Regions from separate parts of the Homo sapiens genome. Here regions 1, 2 and 4 are each linked to region 3. The links are contacts of gene promoters, found by promoter capture Hi-C in blood cells and fetal thymus (Javierre and others, 2016). All regions are on one chromosome and are shown on one strand. The core of a region is centred on a gene start or on the middle of the fragment in contact, and the rest is flanking DNA. Distances in the headings are between cores, read along the strand shown. Region 1 has its middle 14 kb from the start of CYP1A2. Region 2 overlaps PML (PML nuclear body scaffold). Region 3 holds the start of UBL7 (ubiquitin like 7). Region 4 holds the start of RPP25 (ribonuclease P/MRP subunit p25).

Evidence for each region. The method cuts DNA at HindIII sites, captures the fragments that hold promoters and counts their contacts. A CHiCAGO score of 5 or more calls a contact.
Region 1: a fragment that was not itself captured here is called in contact with the fragment with the promoter of UBL7 in region 3 in 1 of 17 cell types (M0 macrophages); the score reaches 5.4 in M0 macrophages.
Region 2: a contact is called between a fragment that was not itself captured here and the fragment with the promoter of UBL7 in region 3, in 5 of 17 cell types (fetal thymus, erythroblasts, total CD8 T cells and 2 more). The highest score is 8.3, in fetal thymus.
Region 4: a contact is called between a fragment that was not itself captured here and the fragment with the promoter of UBL7 in region 3, in 1 of 17 cell types (naive B cells). The highest score is 5.7, in naive B cells.

The regions. Positions count from the first base shown.
Region 1 is chr15:74,758,736-74,766,170 of GRCh38, forward strand. No RefSeq gene overlaps it. Among named protein-coding and RNA genes, the nearest start is that of CYP1A2, 14 kb to the left of the region's middle. RefSeq lists an enhancer at 4,892-5,006 and a cis regulatory region at 4,899-4,997. The HindIII fragment of the contact is 6,546 bases long and covers 554-7,099 here.
Region 2 is chr15:73,995,039-74,002,712 of GRCh38, forward strand. It overlaps PML (PML nuclear body scaffold), which reads left to right. Exons shown (of 9, transcript NM_033238.3): 2 at 2,966-3,438. Among named protein-coding and RNA genes, the nearest start is that of PML, 4.2 kb to the left of the region's middle. RefSeq lists enhancers at 91-260, 2,550-3,052. The HindIII fragment of the contact is 4,510 bases long and covers 1-4,443 here.
Region 3 is chr15:74,459,310-74,465,879 of GRCh38, forward strand. UBL7 (ubiquitin like 7) reads right to left here and starts at 1,851. Exons shown (of 11, transcript NM_032907.5): 1 at 1,728-1,851. It overlaps UBL7-DT (UBL7 divergent transcript), which reads left to right and starts at 1,956. Exons shown (of 4, transcript NR_120377.1): 1 at 1,956-2,718. RefSeq lists enhancers at 417-936, 1,092-1,938, 1,393-1,482, 1,773-1,922, 2,870-3,370 and 1 more. The HindIII fragment of the contact is 11,059 bases long and covers 1-1,963 here.
Region 4 is chr15:74,951,666-74,958,468 of GRCh38, forward strand. RPP25 (ribonuclease P/MRP subunit p25) reads right to left here and starts at 5,107. Exons shown (of 1, transcript NM_017793.3): 1 at 2,753-5,107. The coding sequence starts at 4,918. The coding sequence ends at 4,319. RefSeq lists enhancers at 2,923-3,856, 3,857-4,790, 4,791-5,724, 6,719-6,803 and a silencer at 4,750-5,399. The HindIII fragment of the contact is 524 bases long and covers 2,445-2,968 here.

The sequences.
Region 1 (7,435 bases), core at 2,577-5,076, 300 kb after region 3:
AAAAAAACCTCCCGGCAAGCCGCAAGCAGGCATTGCCATACTTTGCCAATCTAAGAATCAGCAGGGCCCAGCTCCCTGAGGTAATTTCAGGACCGATCTGAGGTGGCTCGATGGTCACCATACAGCCACTGCCCCATCTGGCTCACTGTGGTCTGGAGATGGCTTGAGCTTCTCATGCACACCTGGCCAATCTTTAACTGGTTGGCCTAGAGCTCCCCTCTGGCCAGAGCCAAGGTAGGAGGAATTGGAGACTTCGCCCCGCTGCTTGCCATTCCTGCCTCCCACAGCAGGTACGAGGCAGGTGGGACCAGCCTGTTCTATCTTTTCCTGGTAGGCCCTGGACACGCATCATCTCAGGCTATTCTCACAACAACCACAGGAGATGGGTACTGTTATACCAACTTTAGAGATGAGAAGCCTGAGGCTCAGGAAGCATGAGGAGGGCATGTGTGGTGGAGAGATTCAGGACTGCACCATTTGCCCTATACCACCTCCAGGGTCTCTTCCCTACCTGTGTCTCTCCCTGAGTCAGGATTGTGGGACTGGAACAGGAAGCTTGGAAACACTACATGATCAAGGAACGGCATGGAGAGTTAGAAAGAGCTCTTGGCCAGAGGGCTAGGAGTCCTGCACTCAGGTTCCAAGTGTGGGTGACCTTGGGCCAGTCCCACCCCTCACAGGCCTCGACCCCATCTTCAGCCTTCTGTGAGGTCTTCTCCAGCACCATTAGCCTGAAGTTCAGGCCACTAGCAATGACCCCTGCTCTGCCAGCCTCTTGCTTAATAAGGCTGTGGGCAAATCCAGTGAGTGCCTGGCAAATTTCGAAGTGCAGTGTACCCGGTGAGGGGTGATTTTTGGCAAAGATGGTGGAATGAAAGATGGTAGAATGGTGGGAAAAACCTTGAGCTGGGAATCCCACCTCTGCCTGGTAGGGAAAATTAAGAGACTTCTCTAGACCTCCCCACCTGTTCAGTTCAGATCCCCAACTCCCTTTATGTCAAGCATCTACCACCAACCAGATACCAGATCTTTCGTTTATATCTTAGTACAGGTCTTTCTTGTTTGTTTGTTTTTTGTTGTTTTAAAGAGATGAGGGTCTCCCTCTGTCCCTCAGGCTGGAGTACACTGGCGAATCATAGCTCACTGCGGCCTCAAACTCCTGGGGTTCAAGCAATATCCTCCTGCCTCAGTCTCTCAGTCTCCTGCCACCGTGCCGAGCTAGTTCAGCTTCTTTTTTTTTTTTTTGAGATGGAGTCTTGCTCTGTGGCCCAGGCTGGAGTGCAGTGGCGCAATCTTGGCTCACTGCAAGCTCCACCTCCTGGGTTCATGCCATTCTCCTGCCTCAGCCTCCTCAGTAGCTGGGATTACAGGCGCCCACCACCATGCCCGCCTAATTTTTTTGTATTTTTTAGTAGAGACGGGGTTTCACCGGGGACGGTCTCGATCTCCTGACCTCGTGATCCGCCCGCCTCCCAAAGTGCTGGGATTACAGGCGTGAGCCACCGCGCCCAGCCTAGTTTCAGCTTCTTGAGAGAGGGGTTTGATTGGCTCAGCTCATCTTTTTCAGCCAGGCTACACAGGTCAGAGACCACAGTCAGTCAGTGGTTGGGTCCCCTTGGAGCAATGTTTACCCTGGTAAATAGCCACAGGCAACAGAGTGAGGGTCACAGGGTCTAAGCTACCTCAGCAAGGGATCCCTGCACACAAGTCCTGGAAGAAACAATGGCACAGCGGAAAGCTAGCGGAACACACAAAAGCCTCCATTTGTCACTTTTCTGCTCTGCCCACCTCTCCTCACACCCACACTACAAAGAAAATTATCTTTGCTCTCATCTTTTCCCGTGACTCCCAGGTTGAGACCTCCTAACAACAAATTAGAAATAGCTTTAACACACACCCCATTGCAAACCAGCTTACACTGCTCTAACTAAGGTTGGAACACTGGGTCAGGTGGTCTTGCCTGGCTCTTTTTTCCCTAAGGGTGACCTCCCTCCCAGGATTCCACTCAGTCCCTATGCAAATGAACTCAGTCACTGGGGTCTCCCTCACCCAGATCTGCCCAGATAAATCTCAGCCTCTCTCTCTCTTTTTTTTTTTTAGGTGGAGTCTTGCTCTGTCGCCCAGGCTGGAGTGCAGTGGTGCGATCTCGGCTCACTGAAACCTCCGCCTCCTGGATTCAAGAAATTCTCCTGCCTCAGCCTCCCAAGTAGCTGGGACGACAGGCATGTGCCACCATGCCCAGCCAATTTTTTTTTTTTTGAGATGGAGTCGCGCTCTGTCGCCCAGGCTGGAGTGCAGTGGTGCGATCTCAGCTCACTGCAAGCTCTGCCTCCTGGGTTCACACCATTCTCCTGCGTCAGCCTCCTGAGTAGCTGGGACTACAGGCGCCCGCCACCACACCTGGCTAATTTTTTGTATTTTTAGTAGAGACGGGATTTCACCGTGTTAGCCAGGATGGTCTCGATCTCCTGACCTCGTGATCCGCCTGCCTCGGCCTCCCAAAGTGCTGGGATTACAGGCGTGAGCCACCGTGCCCGGCCAATTTTTGTATTTTTATTAGAGTATGGGATTTTACCATGTTGTCCAGGCTGGTCTCGAACTCCTGATCTCAGGTGATCCACCCACCTCGGTCTCCCCAAGTGCTGCAATTATAGGCATGAGCCACCATGCCCAGCCAAATCTCAGTCTTAAAGTAACTTGCCCCCCAAGGAAGGATTTTCCAGTTGACAAAGGAATCTGAGGAGGGTGCAGACTCTCTGAAAGAATGGTAGTGAGTATACCATCTGGGTGGGGGAACCAAGCAGAGGCTGACTAGACCAGGGTTTATGCAGTTCAGCGTCAGTCCATGAGCTTGCCCTATATCTTATCCCTATCACTGGCTCCTGTCCCTGAGAGGGGACTGCCACCAGAGGTAGCCATACCCTGAGCCAAGCTCCCCATTCTTTAGTGATCCCCCTCAAAATTAGTTCTGAGACCCTGCATTCTGTCCACCCCTCTGCCATGACATAACACCAGGTTCACTAGAGTCCTCTGGAGTACAGCTGCGATGGAGCCTCTCAGGCAGTGCAATGGGGCGGAGGGGGGCACTTTTGGGCAAGGAGCCTGCCCGATGCCCATCACCCTGCACTAATAAGGGAAGCAGACTCTGCTCTGCATTGAGGGACCTGCACTCTCCCTGTGGGCCCTGCAGCCCAGCGGGTTTTTCTGGGTTTAAGATAACATAGTGGCATAGGTGATACTCAATAGGTTCCCCCAGGCCTTCACCTCTGTATTTACCCCTCCACCCCAGGCCAGTATTAAGATAATTACAGGGCTTGGGAAAGGGAAAAGAGATGAGACCAGAGGCTGGCTCACAGATCCAGAAGAAAATCCCAGCTCACCCACTAACCTTGGGCCTGTGACATAAACTTTCTGAGTCTAGACTTTCTCATCTCGCAACTGGGGATGATAATCTTATCTTACAGGTTGGGTGGGAGGTTTAATGAGATAATGTGTGTAAAGTGCCAAATTACAGGTCAGGGTACAACACACACACACACACACACACACACACACACACACACACACACACCAGAAATCCTGAGAAAGGTGGACTCAGGGCAAGATGGACCCCCGACACACGTGTGGCATGTGCAGCTGTGCACACACCAGGCCCACACGTGAGCCAGCATTTCCCCAAACCCTGCGCTCTCTCACTGGGGTCTTGCCAGGGCCTGGGCTCAGCCCACTTCCTTCCACTGCTCCCCCCACCCAGAAGCTGGGGAGGGCTGGGGGTGGTAGCGTGCCAGGGAACAATGGGCCCCCAACCCCTTCCCGCCCATTGCGTGAGAAGGAGCTGCCGGAAGGAAACTCACCTCCCAGTGGGACAGGCCGCCGCCCCCCTGACGTCTGCCCCAGGGAAGTCTGGAGACCCCCATGCTGCTCAAGGGGCGGGCCTCTGTGCACTCCAGGCCTGCCACCCTTGGGACATCCTGTTTTCACCACCTGGACTGGCTTCCCCCGCCCCCTCTTTCAGAGAAGATGGTCCCAGACCCTCTCTCTGGGGCTGGGCTGGGTTCCCCACAAGAGTCTAGGGCCCTGTTCTCATTCATCTCTGTGTCCCCCGTGTGTAGCCTGTTCCGGAGTCGTCTCGAGGAATGCTGGCCAACTGCATGAGAGGCTGAGGGAAAGGAGCCAGACTAGGGGTGATCAGGGACCCAGCAGCTGAGCCAGAAAACATGAGAGAGAGAAGGGCCCAGCTCAGAGTGGCCAAAACGCCTGTGCTGCAGATAGGGGTGTGGTCCCAGAAATGCCTCTGGAGAGCACAGGGCATGCTGTTGAGGGCTGGGGGATGCTCTCCCCCCAAATTTTTGGAACACTCAGCTCAGTTTCATTTGTGTAGTGACACTTCCCTTACAGGCCCGCATTCCTCTCTCTCTCTCATACACAATCACACTCATTCCAGGGGTCTCAGCAGCTCCACCATCAGATGGGGGCTCTTAAAGGCAGGGGTCAGGGAGGAGGCCAGGAGCAGATGAGGAGCTGTTCTTGCACCGTGCCTATCCACACTTAGCAGGATAGCTCAGAGGGTCCCCACCAGGCTGGCTGCTGACCAGAAACTCTGGACATCAATTTCCCCAGCTAGAAAATATGAAGAGTTGGGGGGCCTGGCTGAAACTGACCCTGCCCTGGGCCTTGCTGACCTGGGGTGGCCCAGCTGAAAGTGCCAGTGGGCCGGCAGGGGCTGGGAGCAGGCGTGGGCACGCATTTTGAACCCTAGTCTCGGGTGTGTCGATAAGGCAACAACAGACGTGAGTGCCAGCTCTCAGCGGGTGCATGCGCATGGGCAGATGTGGCCTGGAGTGGTCAGGTGGATGCCTGTGCGTGAGTTCTCCAGGTGTCAGTTCAGGTGGCTCAGCACGCCAGCCAGGTATGTGCGTGTTTGTAGCCAGGCATGTGTTTACAGGTGTGCCTCTATCTCCTGTGCCCTCAGGGCCAAGGGAGCCGCTGGCTCGCGTGTCTGAGAGTCCTTCTTGCCGTGAGAATCATGGAATCTCAAAGTCCCCAGATTAGTGCTTCCTCCAAGGTGGGGGCTGGAGTGGGGTGGCTGGCTGGGTAATCAGGCAGGTTTGGGAAGCATGCTTCTGCTCCTGCTGGCGGGCCATGGTTACATCTGAGGGCTGGGAGACCTGGACTGGTAACTCTACCTCCTTGGACAGCAGTAGTGGGGGGCGGGAAGCTGAGGCCCTGCCCAGAGTTTTGGGGGTCCACAGTGATAAAACAAGTAGCTGAGCACAGTTGGGCAAATTTCAGCAACCATCGCACACCAGACAGGCTGCGCTCTGGGTCAGTGCCTCCACCACAAACTCGGCTCACTGCAAGCTCTGCCTCCCAGGTTCACGCCATTCTCCTGCCTCAGCCTCCCGAGTAGCTGGGACTACAGGCGCCCGCCACCACGCCCGGCTAATATTTTTGTATTTTTAGTAGAGATGGGGTTTCACCGCGTTAGCCAGGATGGTCTCGATCTCCTGACCTCGTGTTCTGCCCGCCTTGGCCTCCCAAAGTGCTGGGATTACAGGCGTGAGCCACCGCACCTGGCAATTTTTTGTATTTTTTAGTAGAGACGGGGTTTCACCGTGTTTGCCAGGATGGTCTTGATCTCCTGACCTGGTGATCCGCCCGCCTTGGCCTCCCAAAGTGCTGGGATTACAGGTGTGAGCCACCACACCTGGCAAGGAATTGATTTTTTTAAAGTAGTATGAGAGTGGAGAAAGCCTTTCTAAGTTTGACACAGGTCCAGAAGCGGCAAAAGAAAAGACTGATTCCACTGCATAAAAATCAATCATTTCTGCATTCCAAAGAATCATAACCAAGTTGGAAGACACACAAGGAACATAAGCCGGTTGGCTTCCAGTTCTCCCCTTCAGTCCCCCTCCATCCCGTGCTCTGTGAGGGGAAGCTGACCTGTGGGGCTTCTATCCACAGACTCCCTGGCCCTCTGGCTCCTAGACGGGTTCATAGAATGGAGGCTCTCACAGGAGATGGGGATGTGTCCTCTGAGGCAATCCTCTCCATGCAGCTCTTTCCCCCAGTAGCATTCTTCAGGCACTACCCTCTCAGGGCCCCCACCGTTCCCTGCCTAACCCCGTGTAATAATCTCTGTATTAATCCTTCCTCGAATTAAACTGTTTCCTGCTGGGGACCCTGAATGATGCACAGATTAAAGGTTAATTTCTTTAATATATAGAGTTCCTATTAAAAAAAAAAAATCCAGGCCGGGCGCAGTGGCTCATGCCTGTAATCCCAGCACTTTGGGAGGCCAAGGCGGGCGGATCACGAGGTCAGGAGTTCGAGACCAGCCTGGCCAATATGGTGAAACCCCCGTCTCTACTAAACATACAAAAGTTAGCCGGGCGTGGTGGCACGTGCCTGTAATCCCAACTACTCAGGGGGTTGAGGCAGGAGAATTGCTTGAACCAGGGAGGCGGAGGTTGCAGTGAGCTGAGATCGCGCCACTGCACTCCAGGCTGGGTGACAGAGCAAGACTCCATGTCAAAAAACAAAAAGCAAAAAAAAAAAAAAAAACAACAATCCAGTAAAAAATAGATGAAAAACATGAACTGTTAACAGACACAAATATATTTTAAAATATAAAGAGATGCTTGGCTGCACCTACAATCGGCAAACTACAATTTTTTTTGAGACGAAGTCTCATTCTGTCGCCCAGGCTGGAGAGCAGTGGCACAATCTCGGCCCACTGTAGCCTCCACCTGCCAGGTTCAAGCGATCCTCCCACCTCAGCCTCCCAAGTAGCTGGGATTACAAGTATGCATCACCATGCCTGGCTAATATTTGTATTTTTAGTAGAGACAGGGTTTCATCATGTTGGCCAGGCTGGTCTCCAACTCCTGACCTCAAGTGATCCACCCATCTTGGCCTCCCAAAGTGCTGGGATTACAGGTGTGAGCCACCATGCCTGGCATCAGTGAACTATAACTTAAAACTACAAATATAATTTTTTACCAATTACATTGGGAAAGATGTATGGTGTTAGCAAGGGTGCTGAAAAGTTGGCATTCATATTTATCATTGGTGGAAGTGAATTTTAGTTGAAAAGTAAAGCTTTAAACATTATGCTAAGTGAAATAAGCCAGTTACAAAAACACAAATACCGTATGGTTCCACTTTTGTGAAATACCTAGAATAGTCAAAACCCTACAGATAGACAGAACAGTGGTTGCCTGGGGCTGGGGAGAAGGGGGAATGGGGAGTTAGTGTTTAATGGGTAGGGTTTCAGGTTTACAAGATGGAAAGGGCTCTGGAGATGGACAGTGGTGATGGCTGCACAACATTATGAGTGCATTTAATACCACTAAACTGTGTACTTAAAAATGGTTAAGATGGAGGCTGGGCACGTTGGCTCACTTCTGTAATTCCAGCACTTTGGGAGTCTGAG
Region 2 (7,674 bases), core at 939-3,438, 460 kb before region 3:
ACCCTAGAGAGTGACACAAAGCGGGAAGTCCAGACACCAGGGTCCTGACCGTCTCGGGTGGGGCAGGGAAGGGAGGGTAGGATAGAGTAGAAAAGAGGACACGGAGGAGTTGGGGCGGCCTCGCTGGGCTGCGGTTTCTCCACTGAGCAGTTGGGCAAGGTGAGAAGGGTCAGTGGCCTCCGGGCCTGGGCCCTTCCGCCCACCCTCGAGCCCTGCCTCAACTTTGCCTCAGATGCAGGACTTCAGATTAGGGAGGATGGAGGTAGTACCCCTGTTGCGCTGGCCTGGAGCCAGGGGCATGTCCCAGGCACGGCAAAACTAAAACCAACTTCCCAGATCCGAGGTGAGAAACTGGCTCAGACTGAAGAGGTATCTTTGCCAAGGCCTCCCAGCTCATGTGGTTTCTGCTTAAGGAAGCCTCCCCAACGAACCCTTCTCTTGCCACACCTTTCCTGCCCACCTCCCACCTCCCCCGACAAAGGAACTACTTGGGTTTCTTGCTCTGCTGCCTTTCAGGCCCTTTTACTCCCCTTCATGAAAGTACAGAGGACACCGTATTACAGTAACTTTTATAAACATTATTACAACTAAGAATAACATTACTTAACAATACTAGGTAACATTTATGAGCACTTCAAATGTGCCAGGTACTGTATTAAGCACTTTGGTTTTTTTTTGTTGTTGTTTGTTTGTTTTGCTTTGTTTTTTGTTTGTTTGTTTATCTGTTTGTTTTTGAGACGGAGTCTCACACTGTCGCCCAGGCTGGAGTGCAATGGTGCGATCTCGGCTCACTGCAACCTCCTCCTTCCGGGTTCACGCCATTCTCCTGCCTCAGCCTCCCGAGTAGCTGGGATTACAGGCCACGCCACCATACCTGGCTATTTTTTATATTTTTAGTAGAGATGGGGTTTCACTATGTTGGCCAGATTGGTCTCTAACTCCTGACCTCGTGATCCACCCACCTCGGCCTCCCAAAGTGCTGGGATTACAGGCATGAGCCACCATGCCCGGCCTGTTTTTGTATTTTACAAAATGTGGTAAAATATACCTAATGGATAAGTTCCTATGTTAACCATTTATAAGTGTACCATTCAGTGGCATTAAGTAGATTCACAATATTGTGTAACCATCACCACCATCTATTTCCAGAACTTTTTCATTACTCCAGAAACTCTGTACTCTTTAAACCATAGGGGAGGGAAAGATGGCTTGCCTCCACCCTTCTAGTTTCCTTGGCTGGGCTATGAATTAAATAGCCTATGAATTAAATAGTCATAAAATAGATTACCAGCGGAAAACCCATATTTAATTACATATGTATACTCAGGAGTCCCACAATATATGAGACTCAAAGAAAGGTCAGATGATTGAAGCCTGTATAACATCCTGAGCTACGGAAAAGAGCTTGGAGCTTCTGGGTGATGGTGATAACACAAGTTATGGGAGGGTGAGGAGAGGAGCTGTTTGGTGAATAGAGGTTGTCTTGCTATGTAGATTAAAAGTTCTTAGATAATAAAAGTTGTCTGGAGCAGCCCTCTTTTAATATAGATCATTTTACTAATGTAGATTTTCTTTTAAGATATAAATGCCTTTCTTTTTTACAAAAGGAGAGCTTTTCAGAGCTATTCCTGTATCAGCAGTTTCTCAGAATAACCAGCTTAAAATATGCCAAAGAAGTATATTTCAAGAGCCTCCTGCAGTCATACTTTGAAGTGGTGTGTCCTGAGCCCCAGTAATGCAATAGCTCCTCATTTTCTCCTTCCCCTAGCCCTTGGTAACTTCTAATCTACCTTCTGTCCCTATGAACTTACTTATTCTAGATATTTCATGTAAGTGGAATTGTTACCAGTAGAGGATCTTGACTGCAAATTGTTCAGGTTCTTGGCATTTTGAACAAAGAATTGGACAAAATGTACAGCAAAGCAAGGAAAGAGTGAAGCAATGAAAGCAGAGATTTATTGAAAATGAAAGTACACCCCACAGGGTGGGAGCGGCTAGAGCAGGGCTCAAGGACCCCAGTTACAGAATCTTCTGGGTTCCAAATACCCCCTAGAGGTTTCCCATTGGCCACTTGGTGTTCACCCCATTGGTTGCAGAAAGCAACCAACCAGACGTACTTTCAATTTTCCATCTGCCCTGCAGGAAATGGGGTGATTTGCAAAGAGAGTAGCCTCTCTTCCTTTTGTTACTGAGGCATGGAGAGTTGCGGTTTTCCTTTCGATTTAGTTCTAGGAAGTCAGAGGGAATCGGCCTTAGGTTCCCTGCCTCCAGACCCTATTCTCCTGCCTCAGAATCATACAGTGTTTGACCTTTTGTGACTGGCTTATTTCACTTAGCATAATGTCATTGAGGTCTATCTATGTTGTAGCATGTATCAGAATTTCATTTCTTTCTAACGCTGAGTAATATTCCATTATATGTGTAGACCACATTTTGTTTATCTATTCATCTGTTGATGGATACTTGGATTGTTTCTACATTTTGTCTATTGTGAATAGTGTTGCTGTGGACATTGTTGTACAAGTATCTGTTTGGGCCTTGTTTTTACATCTTTTGGTTATATATCTAAGAGTGGAATTTCTGGGTCATATTGTTGTTCCATGCTTACCTCTTTAATGAACCCCCAAACTGTGCATTAAGCACTTTATATGAGGTTGGTACTTAGTGTATCTACCTTCCAAACTGAGTTCCTTGAAGGCAGAATGTATCCTACACCTCTTATATCTCAGAGCCTATTACTGTGGGTGATGAGAAGTAGATGCTCAATAAATGGTGCAGTGAGAGCTGGAGGGCCTGAATAAATGGGGGTATTGGGGTGCTGATAAGCCAGGGTTTTGCATCATCCAATGACTGGCTGGAATGGAATATGAGGTCCTACTCCAGGGTCCAGCTGTAAGGGTGGTTGGCCGGTAGGTGGGGGCTTTTGGGACTTCTCCAGGCCTCACCTGCCTCTCTGGTCCCCCAGCGAGCCCCCGCTTCGGAGGAGGAGTTCCAGTTTCTGCGCTGCCAGCAATGCCAGGCGGAAGCCAAGTGCCCGAAGCTGCTGCCTTGTCTGCACACGCTGTGCTCAGGATGCCTGGAGGCGTCGGGCATGCAGTGCCCCATCTGCCAGGCGCCCTGGCCCCTAGGTGCAGACACACCCGCCCTGGATAACGTCTTTTTCGAGAGTCTGCAGCGGCGCCTGTCGGTGTACCGGCAGATTGTGGATGCGCAGGCTGTGTGCACCCGCTGCAAAGAGTCGGCCGACTTCTGGTGCTTTGAGTGCGAGCAGCTCCTCTGCGCCAAGTGCTTCGAGGCACACCAGTGGTTCCTCAAGCACGAGGCCCGGCCCCTAGCAGAGCTGCGCAACCAGTCGGTGCGTGAGTTCCTGGACGGCACCCGCAAGACCAACAACATCTTCTGCTCCAACCCCAACCACCGCACCCCTACGCTGACCAGGTGAGTAGGCCGGCACAGGGTGGGGTGGTGCATCCAAGTACCAGGTAGAGGGCGAGAGGAGCAAAGATCCAAAGAGTCACACAGCTGAGGACAAGGAGCTTCTGGGGCCTTGCAACTCTAAATGTGGTCTGCAGATATGCAGTGTCCGTGTTGATGACCACAATTTATGCTGCCAGTCCCCACGCAGGTGGATAGTAAGTTTCCAGTTTCCTCCTGTAATAAATAATGCTGCAGAATCATCTTTGCATCTTTATCCAGTAACTTCTTTAGGATAAATTTTTAGAAGTGCCACTGCTGGGTGTAGGGGGACGGGAATTCTACATTTGATACATGTTACCAAACTGCCCTTTAGAATTTAGTGGAATTTTCCGAGAGCACTGACACGGAATCTCAGTAAGGCTGGATTCTAGGATCAGAGACAAGTAGTTAGTTTCTGTCTGAAAAGTTGAAACCATTAACACCAGGCAGCGCTATCTGAGAATGTCTGTATGGGGAAAAAAAATCACATCCAGTTGTAATTATTTTTATTAAACAGATTTTAACTCAGTTTTTTAATAGGTAATACATTCGTACAGTTCACGAACAAAATTTGTAAAGAGGAGAGAGAGAGTGCAATCTTCTGTCCATGCCCAACTGCCTAATTCCCACCACTTCTCCCTCTTCCCATCCACAGGTAGCCATTGTTACTAGTTTTGAATGTTTCTTCTGAGAGTTTCTTTACGAATATATATGCAGGTAGGAGCAATCTTATCAGGTCCTATTTTCCCTCTTTTAGCCAAAAAGGTAGCATAACTATGTGAACTTTTCACCATTAGCAATAGATTGTTCATAGAAGGCGCTTCTTGGTTCTTAGAGATCCACTTGCAAAATGAAAGCATTTTTCGCTGGTTTTTGACAACTCAGAACTATATATGGCTAAACCACATATTTGCTGAACTACATATCTGCTAAACTGACTGTGATTTGTTTCCTGCTTTAGGATAAACTTCCCACACTATCAGAATAAGCTTTCCCCTCCGACTCCTCAACAGCTGGTATCACCACGTTTCTTAGCTTATTGTAAAGGTTGAGTGGCTTTCCACTTGTTTATTGGCCATTGTGTTTCTGCATTTGCGAGTGGCCTGTTTAGGTCCTTTGCCTGTTGTTGTTGTTGTTTCCGTTGAGGAATTAAGGGACTAATTAAAGAATTCAGGAACAAATTCCTCGAAAGAAAAAAATGTATGCATTTCTTTTGCTCTTACAATTTATGCAGTTTTAAAACTTACATATTTATTGGATTTTGATTGAAATTGCAATAAATTAGGAGAAATTGGCTTTATCTCTGGTTCTATCTTTTGGATTTAAAAAATTTTTTTTAATTTTTTTTTTTTTTTTTTGAGATGGAGTCTCGCTGTGTCACCCAGGCTGGAGTGCAGTGGCGCGATCTCGGCTCACTGCAACCTCCACCTCCCGGGTTCACGCCATTTTCCTGCCTCAGCCTCCCAAGTAGCTGCGATTACAGGTGCACATCATCATGCCTGGCTAATTTTTTGGCATTTTTAGTAGAGACAGGGTTTCACTATAATGGTCAGGCTGGTCTCCTGACCTCAGGTGATCCACCTGCCTCGGCCTCCCAAAGTTCTGGGATTACAGGCATGAGCCACCATGCCCAGCCTTATACTAATTTCTTAATGAATTTGTAAGCTTTCATGTTTTGAACGTGATAATGCAGCCATCCCACGGGATCCATGGGAGTCTGTTTCAAATTCATAGATGCTCAAGTCTCTGATATAAAATGGCATAGTATTTGTATATAACCTCTACACATCCTCCTGTATACTTTATTTTTTATTTTATTTTTATTTTTTGAGACGGGGTCTTGCTCTGTCGCCCAGGCTGGAGTGCAGTGCTGCACTCGTGGCTCACTGCAGCCTCAATCTCTTGGGTTCAAACAATCCTCCCACCTCAGCCACCAGATTATACAGGACTGCAGGTGTGCACCACCACACTCAGCTAATTTTTAAATTTTTTGTAGAGACAGGGTTTCACGACATTGCCCAGACTGGTCTTGAGAACTCTTGGGCTCAGGCAGCAACCCTCCCTAGGCCTCTCAAAGTGCTGGGATTACAGGTGTGAGCCACTGTACCCATCCCCTCCTGTATACTTTAAGTCATCTCTAGATTACTTATAATGCCTAATACAATGTAAATGCTATGTAAAGAGTTGTTTTACTATATTTTTGAATTTGTATATTTTTTTATTGTGGTACTTTTTTAATTGATTTTTTTTCGCCTGAATATTTTTGATCCAAGATTTGTTGAATCCACGGGTGCGTAACCTGCAGATACTGAGGGCCAACTGTACATATAAATTGTTTAGCGTAGTGCCTGGCACATATTAAATACTCAGTGAATGTTAAAATTCTATTATAATTTCTCTGCTCTAGAACAATTTGAAGAATATAAGAAATTTAGGCTTATAAAAGTTTTTTGAAAAACCATCTTGGAACTGGTGCCTTTTTTATAGTAGATTTTTGGGAACTTTTCCCATTTTTGCCATGGCATTAATCTGTTTTGGCTCTTGTGTCAGATTTTTGGAAGATTTTCCAGTTCATCCTGAGTTATCTTTCATTATTTAAAAATCTCCTATATGCCTGTAACTATACCCCCTTTTTTTATTTCTGATGTTGTATATTTGTGGTTTAGCAGTCTTTTCAAAGTACTGTACTTTTAGTCTTTCCTTAGATTGCTTACTGATTTTAATGTTTTCCTTCTTTCTGTTTGATCATTTTATTTTTGTCATTTTCTTCCTTCTAACTTTTGTCATTATTCATTTTCTAGCTTCTTGAACTTATAATTCATTTATTTGCAATCTTTATTGTTTAATAATAATAACTTTTTTTTTTTTGAGAATCTCCCTCTGTCACCCAGGCTGGAGTGCAGTGGTAGATCTTGGCTCACTGCAACCTGTGCCTCCTGGGTTCAAGTGATTCTCCTGCCTCAGCCTCCCCAGTAGCTGAGACTACAGGTGCCCACCACCATGCCTGGCTAATTTTTTTTATTTTTAGTAGAGACGGGGTTTCCCCATGTTGACCAGGCTGGTCTCGAACTCCTGGCCTCAAGTGATCCACCCGCCTCAGTCTCCCAAAGTTCTGGGATTACAGGCGTGAGCTACAATGCCCTGCCTAATAATAACTCTTTTAAGGCATAAGTTCTCTGTATATGGTTTTGGCTGTATGCCATAACTTTGATAACTTCATTAGTGTTCTCATAGTCAATCATTTCTCAAATTTCATTTCAGTCTTTTCTTAAAAAGGTTCTCTTGCTTAAGGTCAAGAGTTCGAGATCAGCCTGGGCAACATAGCAAGACCTCATCTTTACAAAAAATAAAAAAAATTAGCCAGGCATGGTCGGTGGTACATGCTTGTAGTCCCAGTTATTTGGGAGGTTGAGGCAGGAGGGTTGCTTGAACCTAAGAATTTGAGCCTGCAGTGAGCTGTGATGGTGCCACTTCACTCCAACCAGAGCATCAGAACCGGACCCTGACTCGAAAAAAAAAAAAAAGAAATTTTTTTCTCTTGAAAAGTTTTAGAGAATAGTGTTTTCTAAAATTTTCAAGTGGTTTTGATGTTTGGTTTCTTGTTCTGTCACCCAGGCTGGAATGTGATGGTGCGATTTCATACTTGTTAATTTCTGCACTATGGCCAGTTTATACAGTTTGTATGAGTTCTACATCTAAGACTATATTGAGATTTTCTTAGCGGCCTAGGATATTCCTTGGACTCACATATTCCTAGCAATAATCCTTAGAGTTGAAAAGTTGTATTTGTTGTACACACATATATATACATACACAAATATATGTATATAATATATATGTGTATATATGCATATATCTATATGTATATATCCATATATATGTAAGTTCTAGTGCTTGTGTGTGTGTGTGTATCTCCACGCTATTGAAACTTTCTACCTTTCTTTCTTTTCTTTTTTTTTTTTTTTTTTTGATGGAGTCTTGCTCTGTCATCCAGGTTGGAGTGCAGTGGCATGATCTCGGCTCACTGCAACCTCCTCCTCCCGGGTTCAAGTGTTTCTCCTGCCTCAGCCTCCTGAGTAGCTGGGATTACAGGCGTGTGCCACCATGCCCGGCTAAGTTTTTTTTTTTTTTTTGTATTTTTAGTAGAGAAGGGGTTTCATTATGTTGGCCAGGATGGTCTTGATCTCCTGACCTTGTGATCCACCCGCCTCAGCCTCC
Region 3 (6,570 bases), core at 601-3,100:
TTTTTTTTTGAGACGGAGTCTCGCTCTGTTGCCCAGGCTGGAGTGCAGCGGCGCGATCTCGGCTCACTGCAAGCTCCACCTCCCAGGTTCACGCCATTCTCCTGCCTTCCTGCCTCAGCCTCCCAGGTAGCAGGGACTACAGGCACCCGCCACGACGCCAGGCTAATTTTTTTTTTTTTTTGTACTTTTAGTAGAGACGGGGTTTCACTGTGTTAGCCAGGATGGTCTCGATCTCCTGACCTCGTGATCCACCTGCCTCGGCCTCCCAAAGTGCTGGGATTACAGGCATGAGCGACTGCGCCTGGCCACAACCCATCATTCTAAAACACAGATCTGACCAAGTCACTTCTCTGCTTAGAACTCTTCCAATGTCGGGCTGGGCGCGGTGGCTCATGCCTGTAACCCTAGCACTTTGAGAGGCCTAGGCGGGCGGATTGCCTAAGCTCAAGAGTTCAAGACCAGCCTGGCCAACATGGTGAAACCCGTCACTACTAAAAATACAAAAATTAGCTGGGCGTGGTAGTGCGCACCTGTAGTGCCACCTACTCGGAAGGCTGAGGTTGCAGTGAGCCAAGATCACGTCACTGCACTCCAGCCTGGGTGACAGAGAGAGACTCTGTCGCAAAAAAAAAAAAAAAAAAAAAAAAAAAAGCCAGACGCGGTGGCTCACACCTGTAATCCTGTCACTTTGGGAGGCCGCGGAGGACGGATCACTTAAGATCAGGTGTTTGAAACCAGCCTGGCCAACATGGTGAAACTACATCTCTACTATAATAGAAAAAATTTGCAGGGCGTGGTGGCAGGCGCTTGTAATCCCAGCTACTTGAGAGGCTGAGGCAGGAGAATTGCTTGAACCCGGGAGGTGGAGGTTGCAGTGAGCCGAGATAGCGCCACTGCACTCCAGCTTGGGCGACAGAGACTCCGTCCCTCCCTGCCCCACCCCGGCCCCCCAGAAAAAGACCTCTTCCAATACCTCTAAACCATCTATATAAATTAAGTCTAAACTTCATCGCCTGGCTTACAAAACTCCCTGCCAGCCTCATTCCCCAACAGAGCCCTACCCCTGCAAAGGACCTCCACAACATGTAAGTACACACTCATAACAAAGCTCTCCCCTATTTTACACCTCTGCTCATCTAACTCTGCATGTAATTTCTCTTCCCTTTTTGGCCTTTTAGCAAACTCCTACCGAAACCAACACAGATTCAATAACCTCAGTCCCCTCTCTTTCCTCTGTTGTTCCCACATCCCCTCAGAACAAAAGGGCTACAAATATCTGCTTGCCCCCTCCTCCACCCCAATTCTTGAATGCCCTTGAAAACAAAAGACTAAAGTTTTCTTCATCCTTGTCCCCATACCTGGCATACATGGAACCCCAGAAAATAAATCAGAAACTCTGACGGCGGAAGAATCTTGCAAAGCAAGATAAGTTCTTGTTATAGTCATCATTATTGCTTCCAAAGAGACCTCTGATAGAGAAGAGGAAAGAAAAGGCTGTGAAGCTGCCTAGCAGACCTTCAAGCATCCTCAAGGTATCTTCCACCTCAAGTTTATGCCAGAAGGAGGTCGTTTTATATACCATGTCTCACTTAATCCTCACAACGGTTCCCTAAGGCAGGCATTAGCCACATTTTAAAGATGAGGGAAGCAAGACTCAGTAAAATCACTGGCCCAAGGTCACAGATCGCTAGTAATGGGGCAGGAACACTATCCGGTGGCGACCTCACCGCTCCAGTGGGACCAGCTACTTGGCTGACACACATCGAGCCCGCGCTGCCCAGGGCCCCAGCGCCCTCACCCGTCCCGCGGAAGGAACCCGGCCGCACTGCCGCCGGTGTAAACACTCACTCTGGCCCTCTCGCCGGAAACCGGAAATTCCGCGCTGCATTCTGGGAGTTGCAGTTCCCGCTGTGGCCCCCCGCCCCCTTATAAACAGCCAGTCTACAAGAGGCGCTAGTTGCAAAGCTTCCGGTTCTGGGGGAAGGCGTGGCTTCCGCGCTCTTTGAAATGTCCGGCGCCGGAATGTCTGGGTGCTTTGGTTGGAGAGGGTCCCATTTCCAGTCATTCTTCAGCCTGGTGATTCCCGCGCTCCCCTGAGGAGCATATGAAGTACGTCGGTTCTGCCAGGTTGGAACGCGCTGCTGGACACTCGGCCGTAAGGCGGATCCCGGATCCCCTCCCACTCCGACCCTTCCCTCCAGAAGGGCCGGTTCCCAAACGGCCCCTTTAGACACATCCAAGCGGTTGCCGACGGCCCTCACGATGAAAACTGCTGTCCGTTGGTGAAGGCAGCCTCTTCTGTGCTCCTCGCCGCTGACTTCCTGAGGCGGACCTACCTGTGGAGGCATACCAGGAACCAGACGATGACCCCCTCCAAAAGTTGGGTCTTTGAGGAGAGCTACTAACTTGGGTTCCTGGTACACCCTCTACATGCAGTGGTGAAGCTTATCTAACAGTCATTCATAGAATCAGTTTGGGAAGGGGAATTTTCACTGAACTCTCATAGAGAAACTGTGTTTTAGATAACAGAAAGTTCTGCACGGTTAAAATGGAACAGAAATTTTTTTGCACAGAAATTAGGATTACCGAAAATACTGAAGAAAGACTACCTCTGATTGGACTCTTCTCAAGGAATTAATAATTCAAGAACTAAGGAAAGAAAAAAGTGATTATATGAAAATACTGAAGTTGATCGTAGCAGCTGAAGGCTGATCCTGTGTGGGTAAATGTAAACGCTGAATTCCCACATTCCAATGTGCGACCTGGGATTAAGGCAGCAATTGAGCAGGGTAATGTTACTGAGGAGAGCGAACAGATCGCAGGATCTCAGAAGGCCTAACATTAAAGGCAGATCACCCCTCTGTTCTCATAAGTTATATGGGGAGTTTTGAAATGGCTTTCACTGTCTTCAGGGAGTTTATCTTCAGGATAACTCCCATGTATGTTGTGGGCGCATTAGGAACCCATGGCTGTTCCCAAAGTCTCCCTTTCCCATCCTACCCATTTTTAGATATACCCCCTCTTTCAGTAATCCTTCCTAACTAGACTTCTTTAGACTCCTTCCTCTCCTGCCTACTAAGTTACTTGCACCTGAGCTCCATAATTTATCAAAATTATATATTGTGAATACTTTCCCAGTTCATGATTTTTTTTTTACTCTTAATGGTATTAGATAATTTAATTTCATTTTAAAACTTTTTTTTTTTTTTGAGACGGAGTCTTGCTCTGTCGCCCAGATTGGAGTGCAGTAGTGGCCGATCTCGGCTCACTGCACCCTCCGCCTCCCGGGTTCAAGAGATTCTCATGCCTCAGCCTCTTGAGGAGCTGGGGCTACAGGTACCTGCCACCACGCCCGGCTAATTTTTGTATTTTTAGTAGAGACGGGGTTTCACCACGTTGGCCAGGCTGCTCGAACTCCTGACCTCAGGTGATCCCAAAGTGCTGGGATTACAAGCGGTAGCCACCACGCCCGGCCTGAAATTTTGTTGTGATGGTTAGTGCCTTTTGTGTCCTATGTAAGAAATCTTTGCCTGCCCTCGTTATGAAGATACTATCCTAGGTTTTCTTCTGTGTTATTTTATCTTTCACATTTAGGTCTATGATTAATTTCACATTAATCTTTGTATATGATAGGAGTTAGACATCAAGATTCATCTCTTCCATATGGGTGTACAATTGATCCAGCACTATTTAAAAATTTTGTTCCCACTGAATTTCAGTGGCAGCTTTGTCATAAATCCGGTGACTATGTATGTCTGGGTCAATTTTTGACTCTTATTCTGTGCCATGGGTGTATTTTTCTGTCATTGTGCCAATGTCACACGTCTTGATTTCTCTAACTTTAGAGTAGGTCTTGATATCTGCTAGCCTTTTGGCTTTAAGAGGGGCATGGCTATTCTATCACCAATAGATGACAATTGTTAACTTTGTTTTATGCTTCTAAAAGTATAATTTTACTGAATCTTAAATATGTATATTCAACAAAATTTAGATTACACTGTACATTTGTTTAGTAATCTACATATTTTACCTAGCTTGAATATTTCCCCTGTGCTCAAATATTCTTGAGACTTTTTACTTTGAAATAATTTCAAGTTTACAGTACAGTTGCAAAAATATTACAAAATAATGCCCTCATACCCTTAACCCAAAGTCCCCAGTTGTTAATAGTTTACATTTACCTCATCATTCTTTCTCTCTCACTCTCTCACTATGCATATTGTTCTTTTGTTTTTCCACCCGATCCGTTTAAGAGCCAATTACAGACATTACCCAAAGTATTTCTGTATTTCCTGAAAACAAGGATATATTCTATGTCACAGCCACAGTACAACCCAGCAAAATCAAGAAATTAATAAATACAATAATACCATGTAACTTACAATCTCATTCAGCTTTCATCAACCATTCCAGTTGGGTGGAGGCTGATCATCTCTCTGCCATTTTCATAAGTTATGTCATAGATTTTCACATCTGTCACATCATTCATTTCTCCAAAGAGCCTTAGTTCCTTTTAGTAAGGAATGGTATTTAGAAGCCAAGTTTGGATGCTAGGTGTGTTTATTGCTACTGAGATGTCATTATTTCCAGTCTATTTCAGTGACTAGACCTAGCAAATAAATGAATATTGATATACACACCCATTCATCTATATTTCTATGAAATATATTTAAATATGTGTGCATATAGATGTGTATATGTATATATAGATCTATGTATATGTGAGCATATATATGTGCACATATATCAAAATATATATGTATATATAAAATATGAGTTCACACCAATACCTCAAATTCCAATCCAATACCACATATTTTCCTCTAGTCTTCCTCTTCTCTATAATTTTACCTCCCTTCTGCAATAGTAGGAAACTTGATTCTCATTTTCCACAATATACTTGTATTTTCTCATGTTGACATTCATGGTACCTGATATGGTTTGGCTCTGTGTCCCCACCCAAATCTCATGTTGAATTGTAATCCTCAATGTTGGAGGAGGGGCCTGGTGGGAGGTCATGATGTTTGGATCATGGGGCAGACTTCCCCCTTGCTGTTCTCATGACAGTGAGTTCTCAAGAGATCTGGTTGTTCAAAAGTGTGTAGCACTTCCCCCTTTGCCCTCTCTCTCCTGCTCTGCCATGTGAAGATGTGCTTGCTTCCCCTTCACGTTCTGCCATGATTGTATGTTTCCTGTGGCTTCCCCAGCCATGCTTCCTGTATAGCCTGCAGAACTGTGCGTCAATTAAAGCACTTTTCTTTATAAATCACCTGGTCTCAGGTAGTTCTTTATAGCAGTGCAAGAACAGACTAATACAGTACCATAACAATGGAGCCTCCTCTTCAACTTGATTCTTGAGTCCTTTTGACATAACCCTGGAGGTTTTTGATAGCTCCCTGCTATCTAGCATGACAAGAGTTCCTAGCTAATCTTGTACTTCCTGCCCTAGGCATAAAAATTAGCCATTTCTTCAAGAAATTCATATGGTTTTCTGTGGGAAATGGTATATTAAGACCACAATCTGGGCACTAGGGATGCTTATTGCTACTGAATTGTTTGTTACTTGTAAGCCACATTAGTGGATGGAGCTAGGGGGAGATCTATATCCATAGAGATATAAATAGAGAATATTTATACTGCTACTTCAAATTCAAGACTACAGAGGTTGGGTTTGGTTTTGGCTTTTGGTTTTATGGGTTGCTTTTTGTTTTGTTTTTTTTGAGACAGGATCTCCCTCTGTTGCCCAGGCTGGAGTACAGAGGTGCAATCATGACTCACTGCTGCCTCAAACTCCCAGGCTCAAGCGATTCTCCCACCTCAGCCTGCCAAGTAGCTGGGACTACAGTTGTGCACCACCATGCCCAGCTAATTTGTGTATTTTCTGTGGAGGCAGGGTTTCACCATGTTGCCCAGGCCGGTCTTGAATTACTGGACTCAAGCAATCTGCCCACCTCAGCCTCCCAAAGTAAGACTGCAGAATTTTAATTTAATATTTTCTATATTACATCTTTATTTCCTTTCTTCCACACTGAGAATACTAGTTCTCAAGAACATAAGGGACAACAGTATTTAAATATCTATTTTCATTTCCTTTATCCCATATCACATACCCAACTGTCTCAAAATAACAATACTAATGATACTATCACCACCAATATAATTATTGAGACGTTTAAAAAAATGTTTGCATATGCCCTTCTCATTCTATCCCCTCCATTCATTCTCTCCATTTTAACAGATGTGCTGTATATTATCTGAGCCTATACTCATTACTCTACCTTCCTCTTTTTAACTCTCTTAATACTACAAAGAATTCCATGTTTAGGCCAGGTGCGGCAGCGCACACCTGTAATCCCAGCACTTTGGGAGGCTGAGACAGGCAGATCACCTGAGGTCAGGAGTTTGAGACCAGCCTGGCCAACATAGTGAAACCCTTCTCTACTAAAAATACAAAAATTAGTGGGGGTGTGCTGGCGGGCACTGTAATCTCAGCTACTTGGGAGCTTGAGGCAGGAGAATTGCTTGAACCCAGGAAGTGGAGGTTGCAGTGAGCCGAGATCACACCATTGC
Region 4 (6,803 bases), core at 1,457-3,956, 490 kb after region 3:
CTCGGCCCTCTTTGAGGTACAGTGTCTGATTATGCTGTGATTCTATACCCAGCCCCAGCCCATTTCTAGACTGGGTCCCGGTACAACAGTGAACACTTGTTGAATGAATGAAGGCTCAGGTGGAAGTCCATCACTCATTCGACCATGAGCTCTGGGCCTTGCATTATATACTTTTATGTTTCCAAATGGATTTTGTTTTTGTGACCTAAGTTTTCTAGGTGTGAGACTTCACTGCCGCTCCTAGTCTGGAAGTATCCCAAGGCGGGGCCAAGGCAAGCACCAGGCTGGGTCCAGGAAGCTCCTGGGTAGAGACCACTATTGGAAAAATGGGGTTTCACAAGAGGGACTCTCCCACTCTGCCACTAGTCGGCTCCTGAAATGGGCCTTGTCTCTGAGGTGCTCCCCTAGCCACCCCTCCCTTTATCCCAGGACTTCTGAGGTTCCCACTTCAGCCTTGGTGGTGGGGAGCGGGTAGAGGAACATCTGTCACCTTCTTTTGGAGCCTGCTCCTAGGTCAGTGGGGCCAGAAATCAGTAGGGCAGAGATGGAGTGCTCATGCGTGCTGGGTTCCATTGGTGAGTCAGCACACCTACTGAAAGCCTGGGAACCAAACTTGCCGGGGTGGGGCGGGAGTGCAGAAAAGAAAGTGTTTCATGACCTGCTTGGGGGAAGGTTAATGCTCTGATGCTGGATAAACATGTTCCTCTCTTCTCTACCCCCCAGGATAGGTTTCTGGGCTGGAAGGGAACTTTTCTGACCCATCAAGAGAAATCCACTGCAGGCCGGGGGCAGTGGCTCACCCCTATAATCCCAGCACTTTGGGAGGCCGAGGCGGGTGGATCAGTTGAGGTCAGGAGTTCAAGACCAGCCTGGCTAACACGGTGAAACCCCGTTTCTAATAAAAATACAAAAATTAGCTGCTCATGGTTGCCCACGACTGTAATCCCAGCTACTCAGGAGGCTAAGGCTGGAGGATTGCTTGAACCTGGGAGGCGGAGGCGGCAGTGAGCCAAGACTGTGCCACTGCACTCCAGCCTGGGCAACAGAGTGAGACTCCGTCTCAAAATAAAAAATAAAATAAAAAAATAAAAAGAGTCCGGGAGCAGTGACTCATGCCTGTAATCCCAGCACTCCAGGAGGCTGAGGCGGGTGGATCACCTGAGGTCAGGAGTTTGAGACCAGCCTGGCCAACATGGTGAAACCCCATCTCTACTAATAATAAAAAAATTAGCCGGGCGTGGTAGTGCACACCTATAATCCCAGCTACTCCGGAGGCTGAGGCAGGAGAATCACTTGAACCTGGGAGGCAGAGGTTGCGGTGAGCTGAGATTGTGCCATTGCACTACAGCCGGGCGAAAAAATATATATATATATAAAATCGTGGTGGCTCACACCTCTAATCCCAGCACTTTGGGAAGCCAAGGCAGGTGGATCACAAGGTCAAGAGATTGAGACCATCCTGGCCAACATGGTGAAATGCCGTCTCTACTAAAAATACAAAAATTAGCTGGGCGTGGTGGCACATGCCTGTAATCCCAGCTACTTGGGAGGCTGAGGCAGAAGAATCGCTTAAACCCAGGAGGTGGAGGTTGCAGTGAGCTGAGATTGCACCACTGCACTCCAGCCTAGTGACAGAGCAAGACTCCTTCTCAAAATAATAATAATAATAATTAAAATAAAAAAAATAAAAAAGAGAGGCCGGGTGTGGTGGCTCATGCCTGTAATCCCAGCACTGTGGGAGGCCGAGGCGGGTGGATCACCTGAGATCAGGTGTTTGAGACCAGCCTGGCCAACATGGTGAGACCCCTTCTCTACTAAAAATACAAAAACTAGCCGAGTGTGGGGATACACGCCTGTAATCCCAGCTACTCAGGAGGCTGAGGCAGGAGAATCGCTTGAACCCAGGAGGCAGAGGTTGCAGTGAGCCGAGATCGCACCACAGCACTCCAGCCCGGGCGACAGAGAGATACTCCGTTTCAAAAAAAATAATAAAAAAAAATCCATTGCAGCCTTATCTCCGTGACAAGACTAGCAGACCCTGCTTTCTTTTTTTTTTTTTCGAGACGGAGTCTCACACTGTCGCCCAGGCTGGAGTGCAGTGATGCAATCTCGGCTCACTGCAACCTCCGCCTCCCAGGTTCAAGCGATTCTCCTGCCTCAGCCTCCTGAGTAGCTGGGATTACAGGCGCCCGCCACCATGCCTGACTAATTTTTGTATTTTTAGTGGAGACGGGGTTTCACCATGTTGGCCAGGCTGGTCTCAAGCTCCTGACCTCGTGATTTGCCCGCCTTGGCCCCCCAAAGTGCTGGGATTACAGGATTACAGGCATGAACCACCATGCCCGGCCTCAGGCCCTGCTTTCATAGTCCTGGTAACCCGGCTATCAGTCACTTGTTGTCTTGGAAAGTTGGACCCTTTTCAGAACCAAGACCAGTCTCCCTTAAGCTTCTACCATGCAGGACCTTGTCCAAGTTTTATCACTGCCTTTAGATGCTGAAGTCCAGGAGAAGCTAGGCCATCTTGTCAGGACAGTTTACATTCTTTCCATGCTTCTTGGGCCACCCCTGAGAGGGTCAGACAAGCAAACCCAAACCCCTTGGCCCTCTCCAGGGACTCATCAAGAGCAGGAATTTGGGGAGAGCAACGAGGGACAAAGTCTGGATGACAAAGCTCACTCCAAAGCTCAAGCAGAGATACTGCAGGGGAGGGAAACCTCCCTAAGAGCCCCTCCAGTCAGCCACAGAACGTATCTCTTGTCACCAGCAGGATTTATTTCAGGGTTCTGCCAGCAAAATGACTTATAAATACATTCTTCCGCATCTCCCCCTTTCCAGGGGTGCTGCTGAGTTGCATGGGATGAGATCTGCTTCTGAGATCCTGGGGCTGTATGCCACCCCCAACTCACCAGAGCTCTTCCAGCACACAGCAGCACCCCCACCCCCCAGCTGGCTTGGAGTTGGGCAGAGAAGCTTATGAGGCTGTTATCTCTCAACAGACAGCTGTGCAGGGCTGGAGGCAGCAGCTTATCAGGAGGCCTGCAGTGATTCACAGCCCAAGACCCAGCTTCTCTGCTGAATAGTAATTTCCAGCAGTGGATTTGTGCTCAGTCTCTCTCCTCCCCCTTTCCCAAGGGTGTGCTGTCCTTTCTCAGAGAGAGGGCAGTGAAGGGGAGATCCTACCCACAGAGCTGGGGGCTTTGTGCCAGCCTTCTGGGTAAGGTTCAGTTTATTGTCTGGAGGCTGCAGATTCAGGGACCTCAGCAGGGTCTGCCACCCTTTGCAGTGACCTCCAGGAGAGTTCATCGATGCTGTCCTTCCACTCCTTCCTTCCCCTCCCAGAAAAACAATGTGCCGCTCCCTTTCCCTTAGTGGCGATGTACAGGGGTACACGGGCCCCCATTTGCAACAGCCTCTGAGGCCAGGGCCAGCCCGGGAGGGCGGAGTGGGGGAGGAGAGAGGAAGAAGCCAGGGACTGGGCAGTGCCTTGCACCATTTTGAAGCTGTTCAGTCTCTGTGCCTGACCCTGAAGACTCCAAAGACTCAGGACGCAAGGCTGGAGGGGAGGGGAGACACAAGGGGCCAGGCGAGAGCTGTCTCTGCACAGGCGGGTGGTTAGAAAAAAAATGGGGGACACAGCCATTTTTGTGCTTGTTTTATTGGAAGCAAGACTCCAGCCAGCTGCAGGGCTCAGGGGAGGAGGCCTGGAGAGTTCAGTCCTGGGTCTCCCTCTGGGCCAGCAGGGGGAAAAGGGGTGTTAAAAGAGCTAGAACCCTCAGAGATGCTCCTCTGAAGCAGGGGAAAGAAAACTAGAAAGGAAAACTGTCCCAGGGCGGGGAGCGGAATAGGGCCCCCACATCTCAGACTCTCCTACCCTCAAGCAGTTAATTCTCACCCCCTGCCTTCCTCTGTCAACGGTGGGGGTGATTCCAATAACTCTTCTCAGCTTCCATACTTCAGGTGCTCTTCGTGAATGCTGGGTGGCTTTAACCCTTGGGGGTCCCAAACAAGTTTCCAGAATCCCACTGTCCACCATTCTCCCCCAAAGAAGGTCCCAGAAAAGGTGAAGTTCCGTGTCTTCACGCAACACGGGCATAAGCAGCAATTATCGCACGAAGTTTCCCTAGGGTGGTCGGGGATCCTCTCCTGCCACTCCTGGGGCCCCTCTCTTGTCGCCTTAAGGTCCATGCTACCTGTCTTGAGGAGCTGTGTCCAGGTTGTGGGCTCCGGAGGACCGAGGAGTGAAAGGCTGGAGGTACATCTGAAGGTGGAGGCGCTGGCGGAAGATCCTGCCGGACTAGGTGGCCCACAGTCCGGAGTTTCAGGCCGTCTGATCCTCGTCCGCAACCCCTGGCTCGGGTTGCGATCGCTTCGCGGAGCCTTCTCCAGCTGCGGGTTCCCCTAGGCTCCTCTTGGACGCTGGCGCGGCTGGCGGGGACGAGGGACCAGGATGGGGATTCGGGGGCTGGTAGCCGGGCTGTCGCGGATCCAGCGCGTCCTTGGAAAGTAGGATGGCGAGGCCGGGCACGTTCTTAAGTACGCTGAGACTAGCGGCCGGCTCGCCAGGCGTCTGACCCTGCGTGGGCCCAGGCGGGAGGCTCTGCCACACCTCGCGTACGCTCCGGTAGCGCAGCCGCGTGACCTGGTGCAGGCCCGCCAGGCGGCGCTTGAGGATCTCGGCGCACGTGACGGTTTTGGTGGTGGCCCGGCCGCAGCCGCTGAAGACGATGGCGCGCGTGGCTGGCTGCGCCATGCTGGCGGTGGCGAAGGCCATCAGGTTCCGGATCTTGCTGCCTTCCTTGACCCGCATGTGCACCGCGCCCGGCGCCAGGTCTGCGAAGGGGCCGGAGCCCGGGCCGCCTCCCTCGGCCCCGCACCCCGCTGGCGCCTCTTCGGAGCGCACCTTACGGAAGTTCTCCATGCGCCGTCGTCGCCGGGACCGCCGGCTTTGCCATGGGGCGGCCTCAGCCCCGGGGCTGCATGGCCGCCGGTCGCGCCTTGCAAGGGCCAGCAGGGGTAAGGGCGCCGGAGCAGCGCAGACGCCGGCGGGCGGGCTGGGACGGCGCGATCTCGGCCCCACTTCTCTCGAGCGGGCGCCGCTCTACTCAGCGCTCTCGGCGCCGGGTGCTCCGCGCCTTTAGCTGAGGCCCCGCCCCTGCCGCCAGGCCCCTCCCCTGACCCGGCCCGGCCGGGCCCGCCCGGGCCCCAGCCTCACTAGCCTTTCCTGGCGAGTCTGGGTCCTCAGCTACGCGGGCGTGGGAGCGGGCGCGCTGCGGGGCGCATGAGCAGGTGAAGGTGAAGTTCCACTATAATCGCCATCAGCGCTCTGAGAGCCAACCCTCACAAACCGGCAGTCTAAATAAAAGCTGCGCTTGCCGTGCAAACACTGCTTCAAATCCGGTATCCGAGCCCTTCCCATTTGCAACTGAAGGCCGCCCCTCGTCCCCTCCCAGGGAGAGATTTCCAAGAGGCTTGCTGGGGCCTTGCCCCTCCTCCCCCGCCCCGGGGAACACCCCCACCTTTTTTCCGCTCCCAAGTATTCTTGCCTCAAGGACAGCTAGTGCGCGGTCAGCAGAGTGCGGGAGGAGCTGGCTGCGGCTCCACTCCGCGCCTCCCCGCGGGCGATTACGTCGCGGCGTGGTCCTCGCGGGGCGCGGAAGACCCAGACTTCAGCCTCGCCACGCCTGCCCGGAGCTCGAGGCTCCCGGACCCCCGTCCACCCCTGGGACGTGAGGAGTGAGGCTTTGGGCCAGGCTGTTCCCCGAGGCGCGTGGGGAAGCGGGCGTGACCTCTTCTGAAAAGGCGGTAGGCTCGCTCCACCCAGGCCCTAGAGCCCACCCTTAGAGCTGCGCGCTTTAGGGTGAGCCAGGCACGATGCCTTGCCAACGTGGCCGCCCCCTTCCTCCCAGGCGGAATTCGCTCAGGCAACATTGGCCCCTTGAGATCCAGTGGGGTCCTTTTCGAAAGGAGGCTAGGTGAACGCAGGTTTTAAAAAAGAGAAGGGAGGGGCCGGGCGCGGTGTCTCACGCTTTTAATCCCAGCACTTTGGGAGGCAGAGGTGGGCGGATTACTTGACGTCAGGAGTTCGAGACCAGCCTGGTCAACATGGTGAAACCCCGTCTCCATTAAACGTACAAAAATCAGCTCGGCGTTGTGGCACGCTCCTGTAATCCTAGCTGCTCGGGAGGCTGAGGCAGGACAAGCGCTTGAACCCGGGAGCTGAAGGCTGCAGTGAGCCGAGATCATGCCACTGCACTCCAGCCGGGGCGACAGAGCAAAGCTCTGTCTCGAAAAATGAATAAATTAATTAATTAAATAAAATACAAAAGAGAAGGGAGGGATACCCCATTCTCCAGGATGTGATTATTATGCATTGCATGCCTGTATCAAAACGTCTCATGTACCCTCTAAATATAGACACCTATTGTATACCCACAAAAATTAAAAAGACTTAAAAAAAAATAAAAGAGAGAAAGAAGGGAGGAAGATGGGGAGTTGAAGCCCTGGGGGCATTATGGAACTACTGGATGCCTCTCCGGCGGAAACTCCACGGGACCGAAAGAGAGGCCCGGGGTCTCCTGCCGGGTGAGAGAAGCATTAGAGAAAGATGAGATTGGGGGCTGTCAGGACTACTGATGGAAGGGAGGGGGTCTGAGAAGGGGCCCGACCCTCCCTAAAACTGCTCTCGGGATTCCCCCGTCCTCCTTCCACCCGCCCTACGCAGTCAGGACTGAGAGAGGGCGGCAGATCTGGTCCTAGCCAGGGGACTGTGACGGGGCGTGGCGGGGAGGGACACAGAGAGCTGG